2 separate regions of the Homo sapiens genome follow, and region 1 is linked to region 2. The links are contacts of gene promoters, found by promoter capture Hi-C in human tissues and cell types (Jung and others, 2019). All regions are on one chromosome and are shown on one strand. Each heading gives the region's core, a stretch centred on a gene start or on the middle of the fragment in contact. The rest is flanking DNA. Distances are from core to core; before and after follow the strand shown.

What was found. Contacts are between HindIII fragments. The study calls those that stand out against the background at their distance.
Region 1: a contact is called between a fragment that was not itself captured here and the fragment with the promoter of GDNF in region 2, in 2 of the 25 tissues and cell types used here (dorsolateral prefrontal cortex and mesenchymal stem cells).

Annotation. Positions count from the first base shown.
Region 1 is chr5:37,911,539-37,915,733 of GRCh38, forward strand. No RefSeq gene overlaps it. Among named protein-coding and RNA genes, the nearest start is that of LINC02117, 7.3 kb to the right of the region's middle. The HindIII fragment of the contact is 5,293 bases long and covers 1-4,103 here.
Region 2 is chr5:37,838,396-37,842,239 of GRCh38, forward strand. GDNF (glial cell derived neurotrophic factor) reads right to left here and starts at 1,646. Exons shown (of 3, transcript NM_000514.4): 1 at 1,112-1,646. It overlaps GDNF-AS1 (GDNF antisense RNA 1), which reads left to right and starts at 1,489. Exons shown (of 4, transcript NR_145476.1): 1 at 1,489-1,643. RefSeq lists an enhancer at 570-1,507. The HindIII fragment of the contact is 15,271 bases long and covers 1-3,844 here.

The DNA.
Region 1 (4,195 bases), core at 207-2,706, 73 kb after region 2:
AGGAGCTCAAACAACTCTGTAGGAAAAAATCTTAATAATCTGATTAAAAAATTGGCAAAAGATTTGAATAGACATTTCTCAAAAGACATGCAAATAGCAAACAGGCATATGAAAAGGTGCTGAACATCACTGATCATCAGAGAAATGCTAATAAAAACTACAATGAGATATCATCTCACCCCATTTAAAATGGCTTTTACCAAAAGGCAGAGAATAACAAATGCTGGTGAGGATGTGGAGAGAAGGGAACTCTCATACACTGTTGGCGGGAATGTGAATTAGTACAACCACTATGGAGAACAGTTTGGAGATTCCTCAAAAAACTAAAAACAGCTACCATACGATCCAGCAAACCTACTGCTGTCTATATACCCAAAAGAAATCAATATATTGAAGAGAGATTTGCACTCCCATGTTTGTTGCAACACTGTTCATAATAGCCAAGATTTGGAAGCAACCTAAGTGTCCATCCACAGGTGAATGGATAAAGAAAATATACTTATGCACAATGGAATACATTCAGCTATAATAAAAGAAGGATATTCAGTCTTTGCAACAACATGGATGGAAGTGGAGATCATTATATTAAGTGAAAAAGCCAGGCACAGAAAGACAAATGTCGCGTGTTCTCACTTATTTGTGGCATCTAAAAATCAAAATTGAACCCATGGAGATAGAGAGTAGAAGGATGGTTACCAGAGGCTGGGCAGGGTAGTTGGGAGGGTGGGGAGGATGGTTAATGGGTACAAAAAAATTGAATGAATAAGGCCTAGTATTAGATAGCACCACAGGGTGACTGGTCAAAAATTTAATTGTACATTTAAAAATAAAAGGGTATAATTGGATTGTTTGTAACACAAAGGATAAAGACTTAAGGGAATGGATAGCTCATCTTTCATGATGTGATTATTAGACATTGCGGTTCTGTATCAAAACGTCTCACGTATACCATAAATATACACCTACTATATACCCACAAAAATTAAAAATTTAAAAACCACAAAAAGGAGTGAGCAAAATCCCTGCAAAAAATAAAATACTTGAATAGGCTGATGATTTTACATCCTCTCTCCTGATTAAAAAAAAAAAAATCCGTGCTCTTGTACCCCTTCAGTTTTTCTTTTTGTTTTGGTGTTTCCTTTCTATTAACCTCCTGAAATTTTTTGAGTCAGCAGCTTTTGCAGTGCCTGTAGTCTTTTTGCTTACGGGTGAGTTTTGGTGACTTAAAGACTATCAAGAAGATATTTAAAGCTTCTGTCAATTCCTTTGAAAATAACAGAATTTAAAAAGTGGAATTTCCCTCTGTAAGTGGCTACTTTCTAGAGGAAACCTAACCTCTGGGGATCTTTGCCAAGAATAAATGGAGGGCGTATTATTTGCTGACCATTATCCTTGAGTTCAGATAGCCTCCTCCTGTCTCCTGGCCCCAAGGTATAAATAGAGACACAGAGGAGACTGGCAGAGATCTTGCTGACAGCCCTTCCAAACTTCCAGAAAGGATGACTCTGCCTATAGGAGTCTGTCTCATGGGTGGGCAGCTCTCCTGTTGACAAAGATGCCTTTTCAGAACAGTGGCCCCTATGGCTCCCCCGGCATCTGTGCATCTGTCCATCCACCTGTTTCCTTGTAGGCATTTTTTTAGGTGCTATAGATGAGAAAATGAGCAAGATCTGGCTTTTACCTTCCAGGAGTTCCAGTTTACTTGAGACAGATGCATAAATAGATGACAATATGACACTAAGTCTTTGGAGAGTATGCATGAAGGCCATGGGAACAAAGGGGAAGGGGCTGTAGGCACTACCTGGGGGAGTCCAGGGAGGCCTCACGGAGGAGGGGGCGTTTGAGCTGGACCCTGAGGAATAAGAAGGCGCTTATCAGATGGGACCGGCATAGGCAAGAGACCAGATTTGCTAAACCAGCTATAGTACGTATTTGGAAAAGGGTTAACAAGTGGATGTAATTGATTCATTCTACCATCTATTTCCATACAGTTCGTAACTTCTGTCATTGGATGAGAAGAGATAAGGACAACAGAGAATCCCGTTCCCTGTCTAGCTTGGCAGCACTGCCCTTCTTGTTGAAAGCATTGATTTATTTGCCTTCCCCATCTGGCCTTCCAGGCTGAAGCACTGAACATTTCTACTCCATTTTTTTTTAATGTACGTTATTCTTTTGGAAAACTGTTTTGGGGAATTTGAAAGACAAAGCTTCCACTTCATTTGTTTTCCTTAATCAAAAGCCTCTGCTGTCACTGGCAGTTCCACATTTCTTCCTCTCCAGCTTCCCCCAGAGGCACACTTGGAGATGGGAGATGGGCTGGAAATGTCTCTCGTGCAATCCATGGAGACTGCGATTGCCTCCGGAGCCTGTTCTGACTCCTTTAGTGGCCTTGCCCCTTGAGGTGCATCAGGATGAACCCTTGTCTTGGCTTTGCTCTTTGGGAAGATTTTTTTGTAAACGTGTTCTCTTTGGAAGGACAGACATTTTCTGGGCTTTTTTTTTTTTTTTCCTTGGACCGCCAGCCCACGCCATCCATTCTCCATCCACGATGCATTGTTTTCCATTGTGTTCTCTCTGTTCCTTTGGATCCCTGATCTGGTGTCAATGTGCGAGTAGGGAGTGGGGTGGGGGGCAGAGGGAGAGGAGGGGGTTGTTCAGGATTGAGGGCCAGGACAGTAAGAAAATATAGACTTATAATGAGAGTTTTGATGCCACTGACCACTAATTGTCAGTCTTCTTGGTAGGTACCCTTACTGTTAATAACTCAAAAGATCAGGCAGTTAAACATTATTTGATTTTAAAATACTTTTTTTTTTTGAGACAGAGTCTCACTCTGTTGCCCAAACTGGAGTACAGTGGCGTGATCTCAGCTTACTGAAACCTCTGCCTCCCAGGTTCAAGTGATTCTTGTGCCCCAGCCTCCTGAGTAGATGAGATTACAGGCATGTACCATCACACTCAGCTAATTTTTGGATTTTTAGTAGAGATGGGGTTTCATTGTGTTGGTCAGCCTGGCCTGGAACCCTGACCTCAAGTGATCCACCTGCCTCGGCCTCCCAAAGTGCTGGGATTACAGGCGTGAGCCACCACGCCCAGCTGATTTTAGAATACATTTCTTAATTGACCTTTGATTGCTTTATTGTTTTGTCAGGAACCATGAGAAATTTCAGGGTTTTAAAGAACATTTGTTCTGCTGCATTATTGTGAGGTGAGAGAATCAGGACGCTGAAGTCAGGTGTGAGAGCTGGGAAAGGCTGGCACTGCCTATGAACCTGACCATCCCACACAGAGGCTTTATTTTGGGCAAATCATTTCGCCCAGCCTTGTTTTGCTTAGGCATTCCTTATCAAGATATTTACCAGCCGTTTGGTTAGTTGCAAGCAACAACAGCCATGCTGCCATTCTTATGAAAACACACCCTCAGGCCCTACAGGTAGCTTCCTTACTGGGTGCCAAAGTGAAAATCCTATGACACAGCTCCCCTATTTTAGTGGATAGAGAATGTCAGGGGGATGAATGAGCCCAGAGGCCATCTGTTCTAACCCTCTGACATCCAGATTGTTCAATAGCTTTTCTGACGATGTATGCCACATGGCAGAAGTAGGACTAGAACCCTGGACTTGTTCATTTTTAGCCCTGTGCTATTTCTTCTTCACTGAGCCACTTTCTGTGTATTTGAGTGTTCCTTTAACAACCACAAAGTGATTGGGTTGATTCTAACCACATTATTTGAATTTCTGGTGCAGTGGTTCTCAACCCTGGCTACGCATTAGAATCAGCAGGGGAGCATTTCAAACATACCCACGCCCAGGTCTCACTTCAGAACCTGAGTCGCTGGGTGTGGGGCCCCAGTATGAATATCTTAAAGAACTTTGTGATCTAATTCTAAAATGCAGAAAGGATTAAGAACCCTTGTTCCAGTGTGGAGGAGGAAATAGATCCTTTCCTAAGAATTCTTAATTTGCTGACTGGACAACAGAGTTTGCTAATGCAAACCTAATGTCATTCTTTGACCTGAGAAGATAGTTCTCTCCAGGGGCATGTTAAAGTCTAAAGCAAACATTGCTTTTCTTACTCCAGATTTGCAAGTGATTCAAATATTCCCTGACTAATTTAGAAAGGAATATGGGGCTCAGAAACCCAACAGAAATACAGAGGTTTTCCTTTTTTTCAAAAGTGACTTGGAGGACCATCA
Region 2 (3,844 bases), core at 396-2,895:
GAGGTTGGAAGAAACATCTCTTCCTTGAAATACCTAAGCATATATTCCAAACACTGAGCAAGAGTCGAGCGCGTTCTAACATCTCCGCAGCAGGGGCCGGAAGAGTTGCCTTTGTCCCCGCCTATGAGCAGAAGGGTCGCGAGCTCTGGGATGGGTAAGCCCCCCGGGGGCGCGCACATGGGTCCTGGCGGCGGATTCTACCAAAGCCGAAACTAGCTGGGCCCCAGGAAGCTGGCGGGAACCCGCGAAAGTCCGTTTCCAGCCCGAAGAGGGTTCGTTTTTCTTCGTTGGGGCAGGAAACAAACCACCAGTGCGGAATTAGCCTCGAGGTGGTGTAAAGTAGTGGCAGTGGTGGTGGGGTGTTTTTGGAAGGCGGCACAGAGTACAGGAGAAAAAGGGGTCATTAAAATAATAACCTCAATGGCCTAGTGGAGTCTCAAGAATACGTTCGAGACAGAGATTTGAATCCAGGACTGGCAAGAAAGCCCCTCTCCTAACCTCGACGGGGATGGTTAGTTGGGGTGGAGGGCGTTAGGAACGTGCAGGCAACCGGGTGAGGAATGTAGCTTTGCCAGACCTCGCCCGGAGGAGGTGAGCCCTCCATTTTTAGGTTCTCAGCACCTTTGCAGCAGCCCCTCCCCCGGCCTGCGCTTTTCCTTGGCACAGATCAAAACAAGCTCAATAGTAAGTTGCACTCTTGGCAATGATAGTATCTCTGCACGTCCAGAGAGGACACATTTCGACGGCGGTGGGTTCGAAGATGACCCAAGCCCTGAATCGTTCTGTGACTTGACGGAAGAGCACCTGGCCGAGTCGGGGAAGGAAACTGCCCCTCTTGGGCATTCCGGGTCCAGGCGCATCTGGGGCTCCACAGATCTTTGCCCACGTGGAAAAGGCAACATGCCCCTCCGAAAGGCCGGCCTCTCTCCGGTTCTACTTTTCTCTCTCCTCGCATAGCTTAGGTTCCCTCTAGTCTTTCCACTTTCTACTCTCACCGTTTGCTCTGGGGTCCAGACGCACCCCTCTGACTAGGGCGCCCTTCAGCCGGCCGCACCCACCCGCGACGCAGGCACCACCCGCTCCCTGCTCCCCGGCCCGCTCCCTCACTTACCTCGGATCGGGTCTCCGCAGACCCTAGGTTGGACATTAACTCCAGGTGCCCCAAGTCCCAGCCAGGAGACCCATCCGGGCTGATGGCTGGAGCGCGGAGCCCCGCCCAACAGGTCAGGGGCAAGAGTTCGCAATCCTGGGGTCGCGCGGGGCAGCAAGGGCGCGCTGGAGGCGGCGGCCAAGACTCCCGCCGCCGCCGCCGCCAACAGGGCGAGGGCTGCCGGCAACTCTCCCGCCGGGCCCCCGCACCCCCAGAAGCCGAGGTCCGAGCAGCCGCCGCTGCTTTGGGTGGGGGGCTGACAGGGCTGCGCGCGTCGCGCTCTTGGCTGGGGCTGCGCGGGCCCGGGGCGCTGCGGGCGGCTCAGCGGCAGCTGCCGCGCTCTGCGCCTCCTCTGGGCGCACTGCCTGGGAGCACGAGACTGGTTTGTCTGATGCTGCTGCCGGAGCTGAGGTCTTGCCTGGAGATCCGAACGAGACACCACGTCAACCGGCGCGGGGAGTCCCGTGAAGACATGAGGGCGCCAGGAGCGCAGGCTGGTCTTCTAGAGCCCGGGCTGGGGGTCCGGGGTCCGGGGTGGGGGAGGGGAGGCGCGGGGCCCCGGGAGGGAGGGGTCGGGAGGCGTCGGCTGGGCCTGGCGGTGGGGGAGGAGAGGAGAGCAGCGAGGAGGCCCTGGAGTTCCCGAGGCGGGGGGCCGGGGTGCGAGTGGGCGACGCGAGGCGCCCCTCCCTGGGCTGCAGGGAGAGCGCTGAGAGCGCGGAGACGCCGCGGGGCTAGCGCCTTCTCCTCTCCGGGTGGATCAAAAATCGAGAGGAATGTGCGGCGCTCTGCGCGGGCCAGCCGAAAGGGGCAATCCGAACTTGACCGCGGCGCCCGCGCCGGGCTTTGCCCCCGCGCGCCGCACTGGGAGGGTGGCGCTCTGCCGGTGCAGGGCAGCGCCGGGCTTTCCTCGCGCCTGTCGAAGGCCGGCCTTCCCGCTCGGGTGTCTCGCCCTCTCGCTTCTCCGCAGGGCAGGAGGCAGTGGCGAGAAAAGGAGCTGCCGGCCGGAGTTCTAGCACCGAGAAGGAGAGGTGCGGAGCGGCCGGGTGAGGGAAGCCGAGTATTTGCCAGGGGACGCTGCGAGTGGGGATGAATTTATAGGGCTCTCACTCCGTGACGTGCCCTCCAGTGGCTTTTCTGATTCGCTTTCTGACCTAAACACACATTAGTTTAGTCCCCATGCTAAGGCCAACACGGTCTCCAAATATCTGCTGGCTGAAGTCAGAGGCTTTGCATATCATGTATTACATGGCAGGCAATGAAGAAGGCTTCTGAGGCTGGCCGGCTCCTCAGTCCTAGGCTCCATTTTCATGCTGTTGTAATCTAATACCAGACATGGGGCAGGCACATACATTCAAAATCCCAATTCCAGAGGCGTAAGATCACTTTATCAGGAACGGGTTAGGGGAGGTTGAGCTAAACCTGCTTTTATCCAGATTTTCGAAAATGCAGATGGGAAACTTCAGCAAGCGCCCACTTGGATGCTGAGTTTCCAGCGATCAGGGGCCCGGCCCCCATTCCAGAGCTCTGTGGATGGGAGAGGTGAGACCTTCTGGGCATTCCTTTTGTTGGTTAGTTCACCACCAGAAGCTGCCTGAGCCTTCTTTTGTAGAGGACAGGAGGAGGGCAAGTCCTTACACACCCTGTGCATGGCTATAACCATAAATACATTTCATTCACATGGGGCATGGAATTGGCTGTACCTCTAAAATAATGTACTAAATAGGGCATGTCTTTGCTAAGCAGAAACCTGTTTTCCGGAAGCCATTGGACCTGAATTCAGTGGGACCTCTTTTATTTTATTAGCTGGGGCCAGGGAAAGTGTAAACAGGCTCAGTTTACGTCCATGTACCTCTTATTTTATGACTCATCCGGTTGTTGGGGAGTATGTGTTCTTCAAGTAGCTGATACAGACAATAGGCAGGGGAAATGCGTGTGGCAGTGTGGGGGGAAGATCATGTATTATTAAACTTCTTAAAAGTCAAAGATCAGCTACTTTGCAGGTTTGTCAGTGAAGCGAGTGTGGGAGGAAAATTGTTCTTACTAACGTTGCTGTGATTTAAGATTAAGCGAAGTGAAAATCGAGTCATCAAAACATACCTTAGCTGAAATTAGGATGCTCTCTGGAGTTCTGCAGAAAATGACATTTCCCTCTTTGATAGATTTATGGTAGAAATGTAGTTAGATTCAGAAATTAGAGGGCAGAATAAGCTTAATATATTTATTGCCGTTTAGCATTGTTTTTGGAATTTGAAGACGACCCTCATCAATGTTCTTACTCTGAATGATTTCTTTATTTTTAGAGGGCTTTTTGCTGGGGATGATCAGCCCGTCCAAGCACCTGCAAATATCTAGCACTTGCTGTGTGCCAGGCAAAGTGCTAGGCCCTGGGCATTGTGCTGATTGGGCTTTTTTTTTGGGCGGGGGGCGGGGGTTGCAAGGAACAGATACCACTGAGGTTTACCCTCAGTAATGGGAATTTACTGTGGAAGGAAGGCTGACCGGAATCTCCACCATTCCGCCACGTGTCTCCGAAAAGCCTTCCGGAAAGGCCACCCAGCCAGGCCTCATGAAAACTGGATTGAAGTTCAGGAACTGGAAGGTCATTCAGGATACAGCTCTGTGACTGGGTTATCTCGCTGCCCCCTCAGCAGCAGGCATCTGCCGATCCCCACTAACGGCTTAGCCGCCAAGGTG